5 separate regions of the Homo sapiens genome follow, and regions 2, 3, 4 and 5 are each linked to region 1. The links are contacts of gene promoters, found by promoter capture Hi-C in blood cells and fetal thymus (Javierre and others, 2016). All regions are on one chromosome and are shown on one strand. The core of a region is centred on a gene start or on the middle of the fragment in contact, and the rest is flanking DNA. Distances in the headings are between cores, read along the strand shown.

Evidence for each region. The method cuts DNA at HindIII sites, captures the fragments that hold promoters and counts their contacts. A CHiCAGO score of 5 or more calls a contact.
Region 2: a contact is called between a fragment that was not itself captured here and the fragment with the promoter of DCXR in region 1, in 1 of 17 cell types (activated CD4 T cells). The highest score is 5.6, in activated CD4 T cells.
Region 3: a contact is called between the fragment with the promoter of CYBC1 here and the fragment with the promoter of DCXR in region 1, in 5 of 17 cell types (activated CD4 T cells, naive CD4 T cells, naive CD8 T cells and 2 more). The highest score is 6.3, in activated CD4 T cells.
Region 4: a fragment that was not itself captured here is called in contact with the fragment with the promoter of DCXR in region 1 in 4 of 17 cell types (non-activated CD4 T cells, M2 macrophages, total CD8 T cells and 1 more); the score reaches 7.1 in non-activated CD4 T cells.
Region 5: a contact is called between a fragment that was not itself captured here and the fragment with the promoter of DCXR in region 1, in 1 of 17 cell types (erythroblasts). The highest score is 5.0, in erythroblasts.

The regions. Positions count from the first base shown.
Region 1 is chr17:82,036,346-82,038,946 of GRCh38, forward strand. DCXR (dicarbonyl and L-xylulose reductase) reads right to left here and starts at 1,352. Exons shown (of 8, transcript NM_016286.4): 1 at 1,286-1,352; 2 at 1,105-1,202; 3 at 514-668; 4 at 376-418; 5 at 199-298; 6 at 39-103. The coding sequence starts at 1,337. DCXR-DT (DCXR divergent transcript) reads left to right here and starts at 1,573. Exons shown (of 2, transcript NR_159948.1): 1 at 1,573-1,923. RefSeq lists a silencer at 743-1,572. The HindIII fragment of the contact is 4,930 bases long and covers 1-2,601 here.
Region 2 is chr17:82,525,401-82,529,910 of GRCh38, forward strand. All of the region lies in intron 1 of FOXK2 (forkhead box K2), which reads left to right. Among named protein-coding and RNA genes, the nearest start is that of FOXK2, 7.9 kb to the left of the region's middle. The HindIII fragment of the contact is 1,294 bases long and covers 1,670-2,963 here.
Region 3 is chr17:82,448,177-82,452,432 of GRCh38, forward strand. It overlaps CYBC1 (cytochrome b-245 chaperone 1), which reads right to left and starts at 2,576. Exons shown (of 7, transcript NM_001033046.4): 1 at 2,524-2,576; 2 at 994-1,116. The coding sequence starts at 1,078. RefSeq lists silencers at 917-966, 2,277-2,636 and an enhancer at 1,387-1,646. The HindIII fragment of the contact is 1,869 bases long and covers 1,457-3,325 here.
Region 4 is chr17:82,421,089-82,425,598 of GRCh38, forward strand. HEXD (hexosaminidase D) reads left to right here. Exons shown (of 13, transcript NM_001330542.2): 3 at 3,306-3,415. HEXD-IT1 (HEXD intronic transcript 1) reads left to right here and starts at 4,237. Exons shown (of 1, transcript NR_170223.1): 1 at 4,237-4,510. RefSeq lists an enhancer at 2,895-3,730. The HindIII fragment of the contact is 7,971 bases long and covers 1-4,510 here.
Region 5 is chr17:81,684,187-81,688,696 of GRCh38, forward strand. HGS (hepatocyte growth factor-regulated tyrosine kinase substrate) reads left to right here. Exons shown (of 22, transcript NM_004712.5): 2 at 1,419-1,503; 3 at 2,126-2,201; 4 at 2,817-2,909. Among named protein-coding and RNA genes, the nearest start is that of HGS, 2.4 kb to the left of the region's middle. RefSeq lists a silencer at 1-55. The HindIII fragment of the contact is 2,575 bases long and covers 605-3,179 here.

The DNA of each region.
Region 1 (2,601 bases), core at 102-2,601:
GTGTCCTAGGTTGGGGGAGGTACCCCAGCCCTGCTCACCTTGTGGGGCCCGAGCTCTAGGGCCATCACCTTGGTCAGCATGTCCAGGGCACCCTTGGTGGAGCCTACGAAGAGGAACCCAAGCTGGCTGGGGCTGGGGTCGGTGATGAGGGCGAGGCTGGGGCTGGGGTGGGGCTGAGGGCACAGCTGGGGCACTCACAGTAGACGCTATGGTTAGTTACTGCCCGCTGGGAGCACTGGCTGGAGACATTCACGATGGCCCCTGGGACTCCCCGGGCTATTAAGCCCCTGGCCACAATCTGGAATCGCAGCGAGACCGTGAGGCAGAGCTGGCATCACTCACGAGAATTCCCGTCCAGCCCACAGGGCAGCTCACCTGCGACACCTGGATGACCGCACGCAGGTTCACCTCAAAGGATCTAGAGGCCGAGGGACAGACCCTGGTCAGAGATTAGGGCTGCTGCGTCCTCCAGGACAGCCCCTCCCTGAGGTTCCTCCGCCCTCACAGGCTCACCTGTCAAAGGCCTCCTTGGTGACCTCCAGGAAGGGCTGCAGCAGGGCGACAGCGGCGTTGTTCACCAGCAGGTCCACGGGGCCCACGCTGCCCAGCGCCCGCTCGGTGGCCTCCCAGTCACCCAGGTCCACGCACACGGGTTCTATCCCCGGGCACTGTGTGTATCAGGGGGCAGTTACCAGAGGCTCTGTGCCCAGCAAGCGGCACAGCTGGGGACTGGGGCTGGTGACCTTTCAGCCGGACAAGTAAAGGAGTTAGGAGTTCCGAAGGTGTCGGGACTGTGGGGCCAGCAGCCGGGCGCTACCTCCGGCCGGTTCACTTCCTCCCTGCGCCCGAGCGACTCCTGCCCGGGGCCTGCTTCGCAGCCATTTCGGCCTCTTTCTGAGCCCGGGGGCCCCGGCGGCTCTGCCGACCACCCGGCCGCCCACGCAGGCCACCAGCCCCGAGAGAGGGTGCGCGGGCGCCCAGGCCGCGGTGAGAAGCGCAGCGCCCGCGAGGGGAGGCGGAGTCGCGCACAGAGGTACCGCCCCCGCTCGCTGCCGCCCCCTCCTGGCTCGCCGCCTCGCAGCGCTGGGACCCGGCGGGACCTACCTCGCGGACAAGGCTGTCAAGATCCGCCTGAGTCCGGCTCACAGCCACCACCCGCGCGCCCGTCGCGTGCAGCGCCTGGACCGTGCCGCGCCCTATACCTGCCGGGAGCGGGCTCAGTGAAGGCGTCCCCTGCCCGCCTCTGCCCGCCGCCGGCCTTTGCCCACCTTTCCCCGCCGCCCACCTTTGCCTGCCCCGGTGACCAGCACCCGGCGGCCCGCGAGGAACAGCTCCATGTCGGCGCAGTCTCCGCCCTCCGCACTGGGGCTGCGGAACTTGAAGCTCTGGCCACGATGGGCGGGGCGCGGCGGGGCCAATGGCAGGGCGGCCTTCAGATAGGCGGTGGGGACATTCAAATAGCTGCTCCCCGCTGCAGTGATTGGCCGAAAGGAGTGGGCGCGCCGGGGCGGGGCGGGGTCTCCGCTGCCTCAGGGACGGGTCTTTTGAAGTGCCTGGTGTGACCCATCTTCCGTGCTTGAAATCGACGTAGTGGACCCTGGCTAGCATATTTTTCCCTGCCAAGATTATTGCAAAAAGACGATGTGGTGGTTAATATCGGAAAGAATGTGTGGTTAATATCAGGAAGAACACGTGAAATGGAGAATTTCAGGGCTAACATTTCTTGTTTTGTTTCTGAAAACATCGGCATGTCCTAAAAAGTGTCGCCTGTGCCCATCATCTCTCAGGCTTGGGAGCAGGACACCGCCGGCTCACTTTAAAGCCAAGGGAAAGAATTTGGACAACCAACTACGTCTGGAGAAGACACCAATGTCAGCAGAGCTCCGCTTTCATCTGTGGGCGAAGGATTACCTAGATGCCAAGGCAAGAGACTGAAGACACAAACTGTTTCAGTATAACAAAGAAAATAGGCCGGGAGCGGTGGCTCACGCCTGTAATCCCAGCACTTTGGGAGGCCGAGGCGGGTGGATCACGAGGTCAGGAGATCGAGACCATCCTGGCTAACACGGTGAAACCCCATCTCTACTAAAAATACAAAAAATTAGCCGGGCGCGGTGGCGGGCACCTGTAGTCCCAGCTACTCAGGAGGCTGAGGCAGGAGAATGGCGCGAACCCAGGAGGCGGAGCTTGCAGTGAGCCGAGATTGCGCCACTGCACTCCAGCCTGGGCGACAGAGCAAGACTCCATCTTTAAAAAAAAAACAGTTAAAATAAAAATAGTCATAATACAAATTAGATATAAAAATGATCATGATCATGGATAATTATCAATCATTAGTATAAACATTATTAATCATTAGCTTTTAATATTACTCTTTGTTGCATTACTAATATAACCTAGGGACATTGTGAGAAGTGACCTAGAAGGCAAGAGGTGAGCCCTCTGTCACTCCCGCATAAGGGCTGCTTGAGGGCTCCTTGGTCAAGCAGTAATGCCGTTGTCTGGGAAGCCACCCGTTACTTAGAAGACTGCGAAGGGGAGTCTCCTTTCCTTGGAGGCGTCAGGGAACACTCTGCTCCACCAGCTTCTTGTGGGAGGCTG
Region 2 (4,510 bases), core at 1,067-3,566, 490 kb after region 1:
ACTCCTGACCTCAGGTCATCTGCCCACCTCGGCCTCCCAAAGTGCTGGGATTACAGGCGTGAGCTACTGCGCCCGGTCGAGGACAAGGTTCTTATTTGTCCAAGGGCCTGGTCTGGAGGCTATGATTAGTAAAGTGTTTTTTAGGAAGATCAATTGGACAGGACAGTTTGGGTTTGTTGTTGCTATTTTTGTTGCCATGGTAACAAACTAAGTATAATTTATGAATAAAAATAGGCAACTCTTTAACAGTTGTTTATACTTTGAAAATGTCAAATGAATTTGACACATTCTGATCAGTAAGATCCCAGAATATCTAATAGTCAAATATAAATAGAACAAGTTGAATTTACTATTGCCTACAACTATTTAACGTGCTAAATTAAAACTCTGTTTATTTAGAAGAGTGACCCCTGTCCTATGCCAAATGAACTCTATCAGTTCTACCCAGTGGTAATTCCACACTTTCTTTCTTACGTGGCCTGAATCCCACACTTTCTTTCTTACGTGGCATGAATCCCACACTTTCTTTCTTACGTGGCATGAATCCCACACTTACTTTCTTATGTGGCCTGAATCCCACACTTTCTTATGTGGCATGAATCCCTCACTTTATGTGGCATGAATCCCTCACTTTCTTTCTTATGTGGCAGATTGTGTTTGGTAATGTCAGATTTGAAGACTTGTTTATTAAATCAGAGACAGTATCTTCCAAGGTGAAGACTGGAGAGAGATGAGCCGACAGTCAGTGGCTTCTGGAGCTTTCCAGGTGGAGACTCCAATAAATGAATTGAGGGAACTCACAGTGATTCTGTCCTACTCAGAATGCAGATGGGCAGAACTGAGCTTCCCGGAGAATCCCAGTACCAGAAAGAAGAAGTAAGAAGGAGGGGGTCCTGGGAAGGAGATGGCCAAGGGACATGGCTTGGCAATCAGGAAGTCTTGGGCAGCCTTTGAGAGGGCTGTTGTCTCCAGGATAAGGAAGGAGGCTGGACATAGGGCTGGAGAATAAGGAAGGAGTGGAGGTAGAAGGAGTGCATGTAAAGTGGGGACCTTGTAAGGAGAGCAGAGTTGAGATTAGGGTTAGGAGGAGCGGAAACCTCATCACTAAGGTGAAGTGGCTGAAGGAACCACCAAGAAATGGGAGTTGAGGCTGGGTGCGGTGGCTCACGCCTGTGATCCCAGCACTTTGGGAGGCCGAGGCAGGTGGATCATGAGGTCAGGAGATTGAGACCATCCTGGTTAACACGGTGAAACCTCATCTCTACTAAAAATACAAAAAATTAGCTGGGCATGGTGGCGGGCACCTCTAGTCCCAGCTACTTGGGAGGCTGAGGCAGGAGAATGGCATGAACCCAGGAGATTGGAGCTTGCAGTGAGCCGAGATCGCGCCACTGCACTCCAACCTGGGCGACAGAGCGAGACTCCGTCTCAAAAAAAAAAAAAAAAGAAAGAAATGGAGTTGAGGCCTGGTCAGCTCTTTGCCGAGTAGACAGCAGACGATGTCTGAAGGAGGACAGCTCCCAGTGGAAAAGAAAACGAGATTGTGTTGTTTGAAGAGCTGAGCAGAGCGGGTCGGAACGGAGCTACTAGGAAAGTCTGGTGTGTTTCCGTATTGAAGGGCTGCAAGGTGGCTGAAATGCCTTCGTTTTGCGACCTGAAACTCCTGACAAGCTTGTGAGTGGAGCTGAGCCTGGGACACAGGAGTTGGCATGTGTTGGCATAAATAAAGGGATGTTCATAGCAGAGGGCAAATGGCGCTTTGCACTTTGAAAAGTGTTCAGTGTACAAATCAGTTGCCTTTAATAACTACTCTGTATTTAAGCTCCGCCTCCTGGGTTCAAGCGATTCTCCTGCCTCAGCCTCCCGAGGAGCTGGGATTACAGGCATGCACCACCATGCTGGCTAATTTTTGTATTTTTGGTAGAGATAGCTTTTAAAGAAATTTTGGCTGGGCCCGGTGGCTCTTGCCTGTAATCCCAGCACTTTGGGAAGCCGAGACAGGTGGATCATCTGAGGTCAGGAGTTCGAGATCAGCCTGGCCAACATGGCGAAACTCCGACTCTACTAAAAATACAAAAATTAACTGGGCATGGTGGCGGATGCCTGTAATCCCAGCAACTCAGGAGGCTGAGGCAGGATAATCACTTGAACCCACAGGGTGAAGGTTGTGGTGAGCTGAGATGGCGCCACTGTACTCCAGCCTGGGTGACATAGCAAGACTTTGTCTCAAAACCGAAGATATTCATTTGGCAAATTGAGATACATTGTTATCACTGATTTGTAGACACAGAACACATTGCAGCTATTTTAGCATAATTGTTACTTTAAGTTAAAAACCCAGTAACCAACTTACTTCTGCCTCACCTTAGTGTTTAGTACTTCTTCCAGTGGTAAAACTCTGTGTTCCTTTTATTTTATTATTTAGAGTCTCACTCTGTCACCCAGGCTGGAGTACAGTGGCACCATCATAGCTCACTGCAGCCTTGAACTCCTGGACTCAAGCGATCTTCCCACCTCAGTCTCCCGTGTAGCTGAGAGTACAGGCCTGCATGGCCATTCAGGGCTAATTTATTTTTTTTTGGACGTGGGGTCTCGCTATGTTGCCCAGGCTGGTCGCAAATTCCTGTCCTCAAGCAGTCCCCCCACCTCAGTCTGCCAAAGTGCTGGGATTACAGGTGCGAGCCACCCTGCCTGGCCTATACATGTTTTCAAGTGCTGATCATTTATTAATAGTGAAGTGATTGTAGTCAGGCGTGGCTCCCCCATTTACTGGCAGGTCCCATTTAGACCTGCGGTTGCAGAAGTACAGCACAGCTCTGTGCATGATTGGTGGAAATATTCCAGGAGATGAGGCTGTTACAGTAACAGCAGATTTTTCCATTGTGAAAATGTAACTATTCCTGCTTTGTTGAAGAGAAAGATTTTTTTGGAAAATGAAGAAAAGAGGATTTCTAAATTAAGGAAGCTTTTAGTGAAAGCAGTTGGCATTTGGGTAGTAGTATTCTTATCTGTTTAACATTTTTGTGGGGCTCTTGTTTTCTTTTATGTTTGGTTTTTGGAGCAATTTATAATATCTTAAATAATGACAGTCATAGTAAATCAACCTCCACACTTTTTCATGAGGAATTTTTGAATTTGCTGCTAAAATGCAGTACAGGAGGGCATGTTTAAGGCACACATTACCATCTCTACAATGTGAAGCGGGCTTTGAGCACGGAACAAGGTGTTACAGCTGTACCTAGGAAGTGGTGGCAGGGAGACCAGAAAGTACCTCGTGCCAGAGCCACAGCCCCTGCGGCCCTGCTTTCCTCGTGCACGTCAGTTTAGAGTGCACATTGGGCTTCAAACGCCTCTGCTGATTTGTTAGGAACAGAGAAGGTGCTCTGCTGAGAATTCCGTAGATTTCTAGACAGTATTTGGTTTTTGCTGCAGTTTGTCATTTGAGATGGAATGCTTGTGTTCTTTGTCCTGTGAAGGGCATTGGAGTACGACACCGGGGTGAGTCTGCCTCCTTCCCCTCCCTGGGACGTATGACAGTGTCTGGAGGCACATTTGGTTGGCATAGACTGGGAGGACGGGTGCTACTGGCATCTAGTGGACAGAGGCCAGGGATGCCACTGAAAAATCTTACAACGCACAGGACGCAGGAGGGGAGAGCCGCCTGTTGCGTAGCAACCTGGCAGCTGATAATATAATAAAAGTTGGTTATGACTCTTGGTCCTACTGGTGGTAAGTTTTAATAATTTTTTTTACAGATGATTCCTGCTTAAAACCTTTATGCTACCAAAGCATCTGTTCAAATTATACTTGAAAGCGCCTTTTTTTTTTTTTTTTTTTTTTGAGACAGGGTCTTGCTCTGTTTCCCAGGCTGAAGTGCAGTGGTGTGATCTTGGCTCATTGCAGTGTCCACCTCCCGGGTTCAAGCGATTCTCCTGCCTCAGCCTCCTGAGTAGCTGGAATTACAGGCACGTGCCACCACGCCGGCTAATTTTTTTTTTTTTTTTTTCAAGATGGAGTTCTGCTCTGTCGTCCAGGCTGGAATGCAGTGGCACGATCTTGGCTCACTGCAACCTCCGCCTCCCAGGTTCAAGTGATTCTCCTGCCTTAGCCTCCTGAGTACCTGGGATTACAGGCGCGTGCCCACTCCCAGCTAATTTTTGTATTTTTAATAGACAGGGTTTCACCATGTTGGCCAGGCTGATCTCGGACTCCTGACCTCAGGTGATCCGCTTGCCTCGGCCTCCCAAAGTGCTGGGATTACAGGCGTGAGCCATGGCGCCCCACCTGAAAGTGCCTTTTGTAAAACAGAGCCTGGAGGTTGAGACTCATTGCGGAGTCACTAGATAACTCCTCCCTTTGCAGCTTTGAAAGGACACTCTCGGAATGCAGTTCTGTCTTGCTATCCCTGGTTGTAAGAAGATACAACTAGGTCCCTTAAGGCAGTAGTAGCCTAACATTGTTACGTTTGTAATGTGTTCTCTTAGTCGTATTTATTGACTTAATTAGGCTG
Region 3 (4,256 bases), core at 1,326-3,825, 410 kb after region 1:
CAACACAAGTGCAGCTGTCCCCAAGGGTACAGGACCCTACTGGTGGGTAGCGATGGAGGACGGGAGGCTAAGTGGACTGTGAGTCCTACGAAGAGGTCTGAGGACCAGGGAGGAGGAGACATGGGAACCCACGATCACCCATCACGTGGTTAGTGGACTGTGAGTCCTACGAAGAGGTCTGAGGACCAGGGAGGAGGAGACATGGGAACCCACGATCACCCATCACGTGGTTAGTGGACTGTGAGTCCTACGAAGAGGTCTGAGGACCAGGGAGGAGGAGACATGGGAACCCACGATCACCCATCACGTGGTTAGTGGACTGTGAGTCCTACGAAGAGGTCTGAGGACCAGGGAGGAGGAGACATGGGAACCCACGATCACCCATCACGTGGTTAGTGGACTGTGAGTCCTACGAAGAGGTCTGAGGACCAGGGAGGAGGAGACATGGGAACCCACGATCACCCATCACGTGGTTAGTGGACTGTGAGTCCTACGAAGAGGTCTGAGGACCAGGGAGGAGGAGACATGGGAACCCACGATCACCCATCACGTGGTTAGTGGACTGTGAGTCCTACGAAGAGGTCTGAGGACCAGGGAGGAGGAGACATGGGAACCCACGATCACCCATCACGTGGTTAGTGGACTGTGAGTCCTACGAAGAGGTCTGAGGACCAGGGAGGAGGAGACATGGGAACCCACGATCACCCATCACGTGGTTCAAAACAAGTACAAAGGAAAATATGGTGACCTCAGAAAAGCTCATAGAGTATATTAAATACGCTGGGTGTTAGTGATTAAAAGGGGACAAAACAGACATGCATTATCTGTAAAACCAAGTACACCAGATAGAATTTGAATGGATACAAAGAAACAAAATAGCCATTAGATTTCAAGGTAATAGAAAAAAGAGAAAATATTTTGTTTCATTTTCATCCTTTTTGAAAGTCAGGCTTCCGGTTCTGGGGTTCTGGGGAGGGACGTGGAGAGCCTTACCAACCAGCAGGGACCAGGACCGGATGCCTGGAGCCCTCTTCAGATGGAGGCGGGAGCTGGTGCGGGTCTCCACCTGCAGGTACATCCCGAGAGGGCAGCACCACTCTCTACAGGAGGAGGGGTCTGGGAACAGACAGAGGCAGCTGAGCCCTTGGGCCTGCACACAGGCAGGCGCCCACGCCATCAGGCCCAGTCTGGAGGCCAAGAGCAGGTCCCCCAACTAAGTCACCTGCAGCCCCAGACACCATCAGCCAGTCTCACCTGGTCTCTGTGGTTGGGCACGTCACTGGATCCCCCAGAGACCCCGTTTCCTGTGTAAGGAAGGCCCTTTTCCGTTCACAGCGACACCGACTGCGCGGGGGCTGTTTCCCGCTCAGACTCACGAGCTACAGCTGCATCACCACCTGCCCCGTCCTGTCTGGAAACCTTATGTCCTGAGGCCGCTAGCCCCCAGCAGCCTTTAAGCTTCTAGCATCTGTGGGCACCCCCTCTCCCCTGTGCTGGCCTCCACCAAGAAAGGAACTGAAAGTCCCATCATGGCTTCCGGCCGTACTGGCTCTCGCACTGGCATGGACCAACGATCTCAGCTCTCTCTCTGCCCTCCTCCACCTGCTGAAAGTTCAGACTGCACAGTAGAGGGTCCCAAAGCGGCCAGAACCGACGAGTCACCAAAGGGGCTAATCTTCCACAGCGGAGTTCCGCACGGGCGCAGCAGCCCTGCCACTTCACCGTACGCTCCCAACACTGGCCCCAGGGACCCCGTTCTGGTAGTTTCTCAGGGCTTTCCCTGTGAAGTCAAATCAAATTTCTGACATTAAGTAGGGGGTTCAGGCTGGGCGCGGTGGCTCAGGCCTGTAATCTCAGCACTTTGGGAGGACGAGGCGTGCGGATTGTTTGAGTCACGGAGTTCAAGACCAGCCAGGGCAACGTGGCGAAACCCCGTCTCCACAGAAAATACATAAAACAGCCCGGTGTGGTGGTGTACGCCTGTGGTCCTAGTTATTCAGGAGGCTGAGCTGGGAGGATCACCTGAGGCCGGGAGGTGGAGGCTGCAGTGAGCAGAAATCGTGCCACTGGACTCCAGCCTGGGTGACAGAGTGAGACCGTGTCTCAAAAAAATAAAAAATAGTGGGTTCAAATCACACAAACCAATCCTAGATGCTGGTATATGACTGGGCTCCCTCCCGGGCCTCAGTTGCCTCATTGCTCCCGAAACACCCGGCATTCCACATCCAAATGCACACACACACGCACACTCGCGGACACAAGCACACGCGCGCTGGCAAAGCCGCCCGCGCCGCTAGTCGCACCGAGCGCTCGTTTCTTTGTCCGGATCGGGGGCGCTCCCGCCGCCGGGGCCAACCTGCAGCGGAACAGGCGCGAGGCCGCCCGCGACGGGCACGGCGGGACACGGAACAGCCGGCAGGCGGGCCCAGGACGCAGACCCCTCCCGGAGTGGGCCTAAGGGTGCCGGGACGCGCGGCACGGAGCGGGAAGGAAGTGCGGAGCCCACCCAGCCCAGCCGCCTACCGAGAGCACAGCGGTCCCCGCGCCGCAGCAGAGAGACGCGAACCGGCGGGGGCGGGGCCGCGCGCACTTCCGGGATTGGAGCGGAGCCGAGCCGACTTTCGGGGGCGGGGCCGCGCGCGCTTCCGGGATTGGGGGCGGGGCCGCGCGCGCTTACGGGATTGGGGCGGGGCCGCAAGCATTTCCTGGATGGGGCGGAGCCGAGCGGATTTCCGGGATCCGGGCGGAGCCGCAGGAGGAGGCGGGTGGTTCCTGCTAAAGAAGCCAGTTTTCTTGAAAAAAAGAAACGTGCGGGGAAACGTATCCGACAGCAAAGAACTTACCAAGGACTATGAACGTCTTGCTAACATAGAAGCGAAACTGAAGCGGTTCTCATTGCCAAAAAAGAAGATTTGAGCATGAATAAGAACAGGAATTCGAGTGAATTTAAAATCCTCAGATGCTCCAGTCTGTAATTCATAATAATGTATTTTTTAACTCTGTTCACCTTTGGAGGATGCTGGTAAGCTCACCCCAGTTTGTGGCCTGGTTAATAAAAGGAAAGCATCAAGCATTTGTCCTGCCTTTATGAAATTTACAGCAGAGTAACCAAATACTGCATGAGAAGAATTTCTCATTATAGAAGTTTTCCCGCTAATAAATGAAGAAGAAACAGTAGGATTAAAACATCACCCTATGAATTAACGGACCTAGGCAATGTCATCAATGACTGCTAATTAACATCGCAAAAAGGTCAGTTAGATATCAGAAGTACACAACACTATGAAGTAGTCTTGCCAGAAAAAATTTAACCTGAATGTGAACAAGCTTCTAGAGTGAATTACTGGAAATGTGGAAGACAAGACTGTACTAAAGGATTCTACAAGGATACAGTCAGCAATTCGAAACCTCAACCATCTGAATGGACCCTTCCGCTTGGCCAAGAGCATTCCCAAGTTATCCTGAAAAACTAGCTCAGGCAGTGATGGGAAGGGGGAGACAGACATACCTCACTCCCTCCTCCCTTTTGGAATTCAGGCACACAGCTGACCAGCATTCACATTAAAACAGATCTTGAGGTGGCCAGGTGCGGTGGCTCACGCCTGTAATCCCAGCACTTTGGGAGGCCAAGGTGGGCAGATCACGAGGTCAGGAGATTGAGACCATCCTGGCTAACACAGTGAAACCTCATCTCTACTAAAAACACAAAAAAATTAGCTGGGCGTGGTGGCGGGTGCTCATAGTCCCAGCTACTCGGGAGGCTGAGGCAGGAGAATGGCGTGAACCCGGGAGGCAGAGCTTGCAGTGAGCCGAGATCGTGCCACTGCTCTCCAGCCTGGGCAACAGAGTGAGACTCCATCTCAATAAAAAATAACAAAACAAAACAAAAACAGATCTTGAAGTTGACAAAGTAGACTCTGTAGCAATGACGCCAAATTCCAGCCTGACTCTGGTATAGGACTACATGACAGATAGGAAGCCTTGGAAGAAATGGAAGTACTTTACCCCACATTAAATTTCTTCGACTTATTTTGAAATAGCCCTGCAAAGCTGTCCCTTGTGAAGAAAATCTACATTCTGTAGCGAATCCCCGTTCCTTTCCAGGTCTTTTTCCTGCTTCAGGGAGAACTCTGATAAGAAGCACTTACAATCTATTCTCTCTGAAGCCTGCTACCTGGAGACTTCCTCTGCTTAATGGAAATCTTGGTCTCCACAAACCCTTATCTTAACCTAAAAACTCCCTTCTGTTGATTCTA
Region 4 (4,510 bases), core at 1,355-3,854, 390 kb after region 1:
CTCAAAAGTAAGTAAAGGTCTCCCATAGCGAGAAGTGGGGCAGAGTTTTAATGGCTCCCGTCTGAGATTGAGTGCAAAGAGACTTAAAGGAGGGTGCAGGGGAGGCCGAGGCTGCAAGGCTGTCAGAAATACGTAATGAAACATCCAGGAGGGTGCAGGGGAGGCCCAAGGCTGCAAAACTCTCAGAAATACGTAACAAAACTTCCTTCCAGAGGAACAGCGCCCCCCACTAAGGACAAAACAGGGAAAGCATCCACATTGAACTGGGCAGGAACAGCGAAGGGAAAGGTCCTGGGGAAAGGCGTCCAGAAGAGGTGGAGGTCAAAAAACACTGCAGAAGCAGCTACACAGAGCCTGCAGTTTCTAATACCGCGTGGCAGCAGTAGAGGAGGGGGCCTTGAGGCTGGCCTGTCACCATTGCAAACACAAGAGCCTGTTCTTAAAAATGAGCAACAGGCTGGCCATGGTGGCTCACGTCTGTAATCCAGGCACTTTGGGAGGCCAAGACGGACAGATCACCTGAGGTCAGGAGCTTGTGACCAGCCTGGGCAACATGGAGAAACCCCGTCTCTACTAAGAATACAAAAATTAGCAAGGCATGGTGACACATGCCTGTAGTCCCAGCTACTTGGGAGTCTGAAGCAGGAGAATTGCTTGAACTCAGGAGGCAGAGGTTGCAGTGAGCCAAGATTGCGCCACTGCACTCCAGCCAAGGTGACAGAGCAAGACACCATCTCAAAAAAAGAAAAAAAGAAGCAAAAAAGAGTGTTGTTTAACATCATACAAAGATAGGTAAGAAAAAAGAAGGCCAGGCACGGTGGCTCACGCCTGTAATCCCAGCACTTTGGGAGGCCGAGGAAGGTGGATCACAAGGTCAGGAGATGAAGACCATCCTGGCCAACACAGTGTCTCTACTAAAAATACCAAAAATTAGCCCCGTGTGGTGGCGGCGCCTGTAATCCTGCTACTCGAGAGGCTGAGGCAGGAGAATCACTTGAACCTGGGAGGTGGAGGTTGCAGTAAGCCGAGATTGTGCCACTGCGCTCCAGCCTGGGTGACAAGAGTGAGACTCTGTCTCAAAAAAAAAAAAAAAGAAAAAAGAAGATGATCTGAATAGCATTGCAGCAGTGAAGGTGCTCCAGACACACAGGCCCACCCAGCAGGAAACACTGTTCCATAATATTTCATAACAAGATAAAAGATACTCAGAAGATGACGGAAGCTGTGAAAGAACAGCATAAATCAGAAATAGAAAAGCCCAGGCCAGGCTCAGCGGCTCACAACTGTAATCCCACCTACTTGGGAGGCTGAGGCATGAGAATCACCTGAACCTGGGTGGTGGAGGTTGCAGTGAGCCAAGATCGTGCCACTGCACTCCAGCCTGGGCGATAGAGCAAGACTCAGTCTAAAAAAAAAAAAGCCCAGAAATGTGGTAATCAGACAAAAGGAGGTTGTAAAAAATTGCCTGTGGAGCTCAGAAATGAATTATAAGGAAAAAACAATGTTTTTAATGAAGACTAAACTATAAGAAGTGTACAAGTGAGTAGACACCATGGAAAGTGCAGTATTTGGAAACAGATGACAGAAAAGAAAAAAGCAAACAGAGATGAAAAGGCGTTCTGACAAATTGAATATGGCAAAGAAGACTGAACTTACATACAGCTGATGAAGAGGCATTTTGACTTGGGCCAGGCGCGGTGGCTCATGCCTATAATCCCAGCACTTTGGGAGGCTGAGGAGGGTGGATCACCTGAGGTCAGGAGTTCGAGACCAGCCTGACCAACATGGTGAAACCCTGTCTCTATTAAAAATACAAAAATTAGCCAGGCGTGGTGTCAGGTGCCTGTAATCTCAGCTACTCGGGAGACTGAGGCAGGAGAATTGCTTGAACCCGGGAGGCGGAGGTTGTGGTGAGCTGAGATCGTGCCACTGCACTCCATCCTGGGGGACAAGAGCAAAACTCCATCTCAAAAAAAAAAAGAAAGGAAAGGCGTTCTGACAATTGAATATAGGCAAAGAAGATCCAACTTACACACAGCTGGAGTCCCTGTTTCCATCATCTGTTGCTGCGTGACAGATCTCCCCAAACTTGAGGTCCCCATTCATCACCCCTTGTGTTTCTGTGGGTTGGCTGCGTGATTCTGCTTTTCTGACCGAGGTGCCCTCAGGTGGTCACAGCCCCGTAACATCTAGAAACCTCTGATGGTCCGCGTGGCCTTCCATGTCCGGCAGTTCATCCCAACTGTCAGCTGGGGCTCCTTAGTTCTCCTGCATGTGTGTCATCCAGGAGGCCTAGCATGTGCCTGTAGTCCCAGCTCCTTGGAAGGCTGAGGCTGGAGGATCACTTGAGCCCAGGAGTTGGGTGCTGCAGCGAGCCATGATCATGCCAGCACGCTCCAGCCTGGGCAACAGAGTGAGACCCCATCTGTTAAAAAAAAGAGAGAGGCCGGGCACAGTGGCTCACACCTGTAATCCCAGCATTTTGGAAGGCCGAGGGGCAGATTACCTGAGGTCAGGAGTTCGAGACCAGCCTGGCCAACATGGTGAAACCCCGTCTCTACTAAAAATACAAAAATTAGCTGGGCATCGGGGCGGGCGCCTGTAATCCCAGCTACTCGGGAGGCTGGGGCAGGAGAATCGCTTGAACCCGGGAGGCAGAGGTTGCAACGAGCCAAGATCACGCCACTCCACTCCAGCCTGGGCGAGAGAGCGAGACTCCATCTCAAAAAAAAAAAAAAAAGAGAGAAAGACAAGGAAGTGGGGAGGAGAATAAGGGGGAAGGGACCCCATGAGTACAGACCAGGAACGAATGAGTTCTGCACCCCTCTCTCACCTCCCCCAGGTGCTGACCCCAACCCTTCAGAGCCCTGCTCCCCCTGCCCCGGCTCCTCCTGCCCCGTCCCCCATGCCTTGCCATTCTCCTTCAGCCTGGCTGCCCTGTCCCCCATGCCTTGCTGGTGCCCCTCAGCCTGGCTGCCTTGCTGGGCCGCCGTGCATGAAGAGCTGCTTCTTGGTGGCTCCCTGCTGGCCGGACCCGTCCCTCCCAAGCTGAGCCACCAGCGCGTTGAGTAGCAGCCCTGTTTCATAGCATATCTCCCCTTCTGTGCAAAATAGTCACTGGAACGGGGAGTTTCATTTGGCATAACGTAAAGTACACATTCCGGATTTAAGGTTCCCAGGAGAAATAGAAGTAGCAACTCCCACAGTCTCCACAGGCTGAAAGGGAAGGCGTCTCCCTGCTGTGGACTTGCCACATCGTGCTCCAGCAGCCACTTCTTCCTAACCCCTCCCTGTTTACCCCCCAGATTTTTCCTCTGTTCCGTGCGCTAGGTGCAAACGGCCTCCTCATTGAGTATGAAGACATGTTTCCCTACGAGGGCCCTCTGAGGCTGCTGAGGGCCAAGTACGCCTACAGGTAACACTGCCCGTGGCAGGTACAGGGGCGCGGCGTGAAAGCGGGGAAGGGGGGGTTCCGCAGGGCAGGAGGAGCAGCAACCTGGAGGTGCGGGTGGCACAGTCAGGAACTGAACAGTGGTGGGTACATTCCTTTTTTGTCTTTTTAAATTCATCTCTTTAATTGTATGAAAACAAAGTTTCATTTCAAACATTCACTGGAGAGAATTTTGAAACATTTAAAGGGAAAGTAAGCATCAGCAGCGCCCCCTACAGGGAAGAGCTGCAGTTCCTGTCTCTGTCCTGCAGGCGTTTCTTCTGTTGATGGGAGAAGGCTGGACTACAGAAGGTTAGAGAAGGTTAGAGAAGGTTAGAGAAGGCCAGAGAAGGAAGGCCAGAGAAGGCTGGGCTAGAGAAGGCTAGAGAAAGCTGGAGAAGGCTAGAGAAGGCTGGAGAAGGCTGGAGAAGGCTGGACTACAGAAGGTTAGAGAAGGCCAGAGAAGGCTGGGCTAGAGAAGGCCGGAGAAGGCTGGAGGAGGCTAGAGAAGGCTGGAGGAGGCTGGAGGAGGCCAGAGAAGGCTGGAGAAGGCTGGAGAAGGCTGGAGGAGGCTGGGCTAGAGAAGGCCGGAGGAGGCTGGAGGAGGCCAGAGAAGGCTGGAGAAGGCTGGAGGAGGCTAGAGAAGGCTGGAGGAGGCTGGAGGAGGCCGGAGAAGGCTGGAGGAGGCTGGAGGAGGCTGGGCTAGAGAAGGCCGGAGGAGGCTAGAGAAGGCTGGAGAAGGCTGGAGAAGGCTGGGCTAGAGGTTAGAGAAGGCTAGATAAGGTTAGAGAAGGCCAGAGAAGGCTGGGCTAGAGAAGGCTGGAGGAGGCCAGGGAAGGTCAGAGGAGGCTGGAGAAGGCTGGAGGAGGCTGTAGAAGGCTGAGCTAGAGAAGGCTGGAGGATGCTGGAGGAGGCCTCCGCGCAGGGAGGGGCTGCTCTTCAGGCCACAGTTGAGCCTTGAGTTAGAGAAGAGAAGAATTAAAGGGGAGAGAATCAAAATCAATAAAATCAGGTGTGGTGGAGATGGGAGGCCCCTGCTTAATGCTAAAATCACAGGTCTCTGTGAAAATCAATAACGGC
Region 5 (4,510 bases), core at 642-3,141, 350 kb before region 1:
GAGGGGCGCGGACCGGCCGCCCTGCCCGCCTCTCCCCGGCCCGCTGTCCTCCCGGGTTCGGAGCCGCCGATCCTGGACCCTCGGCGCGGCCGTGGGGTCGGCGTCCGTCGGGCGTTGGCAAATGGGGCTCTGCGAGGGTCCGCGCAGGGCGCCAGGGGCGCTCGGCGACCTCGCTCCTCCGCGGGCCCGGGCATTCGGCCGATTTCCTCTTGACCGACGAGCACCCGGCCGAGTGGGCCACAAGGCCTGAGTCATGAAAGTGGGTGACTCAGTCGGATGTTAGGCTCGCACTTGGGCTTCTGACCCAAAACACTGGGCCTCGAAGGGTGGAGCCGGCAGTGTTCTCTCTGGGACCTTCGAGCTCTCTTGGGGGCTGCGGGTCCCAGACCCACCTTTTGTTCCCACACTGGCTTCGGGAAGTGCCTAATGGTTTAGGAAGGCGTTTTCTCACGTTTTTGGAGGTGAAAGCTGATCCTATCTGAGCCTCCTGGAATTGACGCGTTTTGGGAGGGAAACGAATGTTGATGTGCACGTGCCCAGCAGCACGTGGAAAATGCGTCTAATGTTTGGGGGTAGGAGCTTGGGTGGTCGAATGGGCTGCCCAAGCTTGCCTTTTTGTCAAGTAGGGTTTTCAAGGAGACTTCAAGTGAGACACCTTCCTTGCCAAGGGAACCAGCAAGCAGACTGAGTATCTCAGCCACACAGGTAGTTCAGTGCTTCAGGGATGAATCCAGAGGTTAACTACTGAATCAGTATAGAAAGTGGACGTGGCTTGGCTTGTTAGATCGTTTCTGTATCCGGGAAAGGCGATGTGGGCAGAGCTGGAGCTGCCCCCCCAGAGGGGCCAGTTGTTGGAGACAGCAGTGATGTGGTATGATGACAGGTATGCTGGCGAGTCCTCCTTGGAGCCCCGTTCTGCCCTTATTTCCAAAGCACTTGGCTTGGAGCAAGGGGCCTGGAGTCTACACTGCAGGCCTCTCTAGCCCTTGCCCAAGCTAAGGTCCCATTGAAACCGGGAGCATCTGGGCGAACGGGGACTCCAAGGGACGGGTGATAGGGTTCTTTGTTGAGAAGCAGCCGAGCCTGATGTTTAAGAGTGAATCAGCCTCTGTCTCTGGTGAGCTGTGTGACTCACGGCAGTGCCCTCGCCTCTCTGCTGAGTGTCTTTACCTCGCTCGCGGGTTGTGGGAGGGCTTGGACCAGCACCTGGTGTGCTCTTACGCTGTTTGCTGCTTCCCTGGGGAGGATGGCACTTCCCTGCCCATCAGCACGCTCAGGAGGATTCTGTCATGCTTTTTCATTTGGTCCAAATGTCTAAAGGGGAAGGAGAGAGTCCCCCCCAGCTGCTGCCAAGCTGGGGTGCTGCACGGGGCGTCCAGCAGGATAACCCCTCCCTTTCATGGCATTTTCTCTCTCAGACAAGGCGACCAGCCAGCTCCTGTTGGAGACAGATTGGGAGTCCATTTTGCAGATCTGCGACCTGATCCGCCAAGGGGACACACAGTGAGTTAGCGGGGCCTGTGCCCTGATGCGGAGGAGCAGCCGTGCACTAAGCTGGGCTCGCTTGGTGCCCGTTGGGTCTCCACGACGTAGCTGACCGTGTTAGGCTCTTATGTGGAGAACTGCATGGGCTACATGCTAGGATTTTTTGACATCTTGGAGGATTAAGGGGTTTTCTCTGTACAGCTTGCAGATACCTGGTTATGTTTGTATTTGCTTCGGGGTTCTCAAAGACTAAGATGGCAGACAGACTTTTTTTTTTAAGACGGGGCCTTGCTTTGTCACCCAGGCTGAAGTGCAGTGGCGTGATCTCAGCTCACTGCAGCCCCTGCCTCCCAAGCTCAAACGATCGTCCCACCTCAACCTCCTGAGTAGCTGGGACTACAGGCATTCACCATCACGCCCGGCTGATTTTTTGTATTTTGGTAGAGATGGGTTTTTGCCGTAATGCACAGGCTGGTCTCAGACTCCTGGGCTCAAGCAATCCTCCTGCCTTGGCCTCCCAAAGCACTGGGATTACAGGCGTGAGCCACTGCACCTGGCAGCAGATGAGCTTTTCTCATCTTAGTTGCTGAGACTATTTTTTTCCCGTTTTTCTCTGCTTTTATCAATGTTTCCTTTTCAGAGCAAAATATGCTGTGAATTCCATCAAGAAGAAAGTCAACGACAAGAACCCACACGTCGCCTTGTATGCCCTGGAGGTAAGCAGACCCCCGTGCCTCAGTGGCCCCCAGGGTCCCTACCCCCTACTAGTCACGACAGCATGAGAAGAGTTTGTCCTGTGGCCTTGCCCACCTCCCTGGGCATACATCAAGCAGGAGAGTTTCCACTCAGCCTTGAGTGCCTGTGTGAACAGTGCCACCTAGGAGAGGGTCACGCTGAGGGAGAGACAGGAGATAGGGGAGGGAGTGGGCACCACTTCTTCAGCCGGTCCTGCGTGAGTAAACACCAGAAGGCGGATGTCATTGCTGTGCTTGGCAGTGAGACTTGGCGTCACGGAGCGGTGCTGTGCAGGCTGCTGAGTCTCAGATGTGGGTTCCCCACTGGCCTGACGGGCCTGTTGAAGGGCTGCTGTCCCACCGGGTTCCCCACCGGCCACTGACGGGCCTGTCGAAGGGCTCTGCTGTCCCACCGGGTTCCCCTCCGGCCACTGACGGGCCTGTCGAAGGGCTCTGCTGTCCCACCGGGTTCCCCACCGGCCACTGACGGGCCTGTCGAAGGGCTCTGCTGTCCCACAGGGAGGTGGGTCTGTCCGGGAGGAGGAGGGGCCCTGCCCTGACCACTGGCCCAACCCTTCCCTTCCTGGGCATCTGCAGGTCATGGAATCTGTGGTAAAGAACTGTGGCCAGACAGTTCATGATGAGGTGGCCAACAAGCAGACCATGGAGGAGCTGAAGGACCTGCTGAAGGTGGGTGAGACGGGGGCATGCGGGTGGCCACCCAGGCTGGCACCTTTGCTTCTCCGGGTGTTTACTGGGCACTGATGACAGAACAGCACCAGGTGTGGCGGAAAATGTGCAGGTGCAGATCGGTGGTCCCTGCACTGCGCAAGCTCGCACTCATGAGTCGGAGAGACAGGGCCGTGAGCCCCAATCCAGGGAGGTCAGGGTTTAGCAGGAGCCGGCCTGGGGTGCTGTGTCTGGAGGACCAAGGTGACAGCGACCCTGGGGCCTGGGGGAAGCTTCCGGGAGGCAGGGCTTGGGCACCTGCTGTCTTAGGGAAGGTGAGTAGATGCCACTGGGTGGGCAGGGCAGGTGGTGGCTATCGTGTGTGAGAGTGGCTGTGGTCCGGAGGGCAGGCTGGCCACATCCCACAGGCAGGGGCCTGGGAGGGCTCTGAGCGGGGGCTTGTAAGATCGGATGTGTCTGGCGGGGATAAGAGCTGTTTTGGAGAGCGAGGGCTTCATGCTTTCCTGGGCAGAGGAGGAAAAGCCCTCCAGATCCCCAGGAGATTGTGCCGGGGACATCTGCAGGGATTGTGCTGGGGACACCTGCAGGGACTGTGATGTGGACTGTGATGCAGTGGGGATGCTGTTGCAGGTGTCAAGGAGAAAGAGTGTCCCATGTAGTCAGGCTGCTCCCCTTCTGTCCCAACCTGTGGGCCAGACCTGGGTCTCATAGGAGACTCCCTGGACTCACACAGCTGAGAACCTGCCCGGGGATCCCGGTGGACAGCCAGGCCTCTCAAAGGCCCTCACTGGCCACTTTGGCTGGCTTCCTGTCCCGTCCTGTCCTGGCTGAGAGGCGGAAGGTGCCGGAGTCTGGCCCTGCCCGACCCTGGTGCTCCTGAGCTCCTTCAGTCAGGCTGCAGATCCTGAGCCGGTTCGCTCCTCTGGGGTGAGGCAGGGCTGTGAAGGGAAGGCGCCGCTGAGGATGCAGAGGGGTTCTGGAAAGGAGCTTAGGCTGAGGTGCAAGTGCCCCGGAGCCTGCTTGCAGCAGCCTCTGATCGCACGCCGTCCTGCACGTCACACCGGGACGGCGTCCCCGAGAGGGCCGTAGACGCGAGGCCAGGCTGCGCTCTAACCGGGGGAGAGGATGGCTGCAGGGGGTCTGGAGCCCGCTCTGAATTTGGAGGCATTTCTGGAGCGGCTGCCCCCCGCGTCTCCCCGGCTGTGACTGGAAGGAGGGGCGTGGCCAGAGCCCCGCAGTACCCCTGTGTTCTCAGCCCCAACACCACGCTGCCACCGTCAGGCCTGCCGGGTCCTGCCTGTTGGAGGCTGACGGGAACCGGGGATCCTGGGGTGGGCAGGTCCCGTGGGGAAAGGGAGAGACAGATGGTCAGGGGCACAGAGACGCGGCGTTGTTTGGCTCCAGCAAGTAGAGGCAGGCGTGAGGTTTGAACTCAGGGTCTGGGAACAGGTTGGTGCATGGCCCCCACGCCCCACTCGGGGGGCCCTCCCTGGCCTCTGTGTCAGCCCCATCTGCTCAGAGGCTGAGGTCTGCCAGCTGCTTCCTCACACCGAGGCCTCTGGCGCCTGGAGTGTCCTGCGACCCTCACCCCCTTCTCCCTG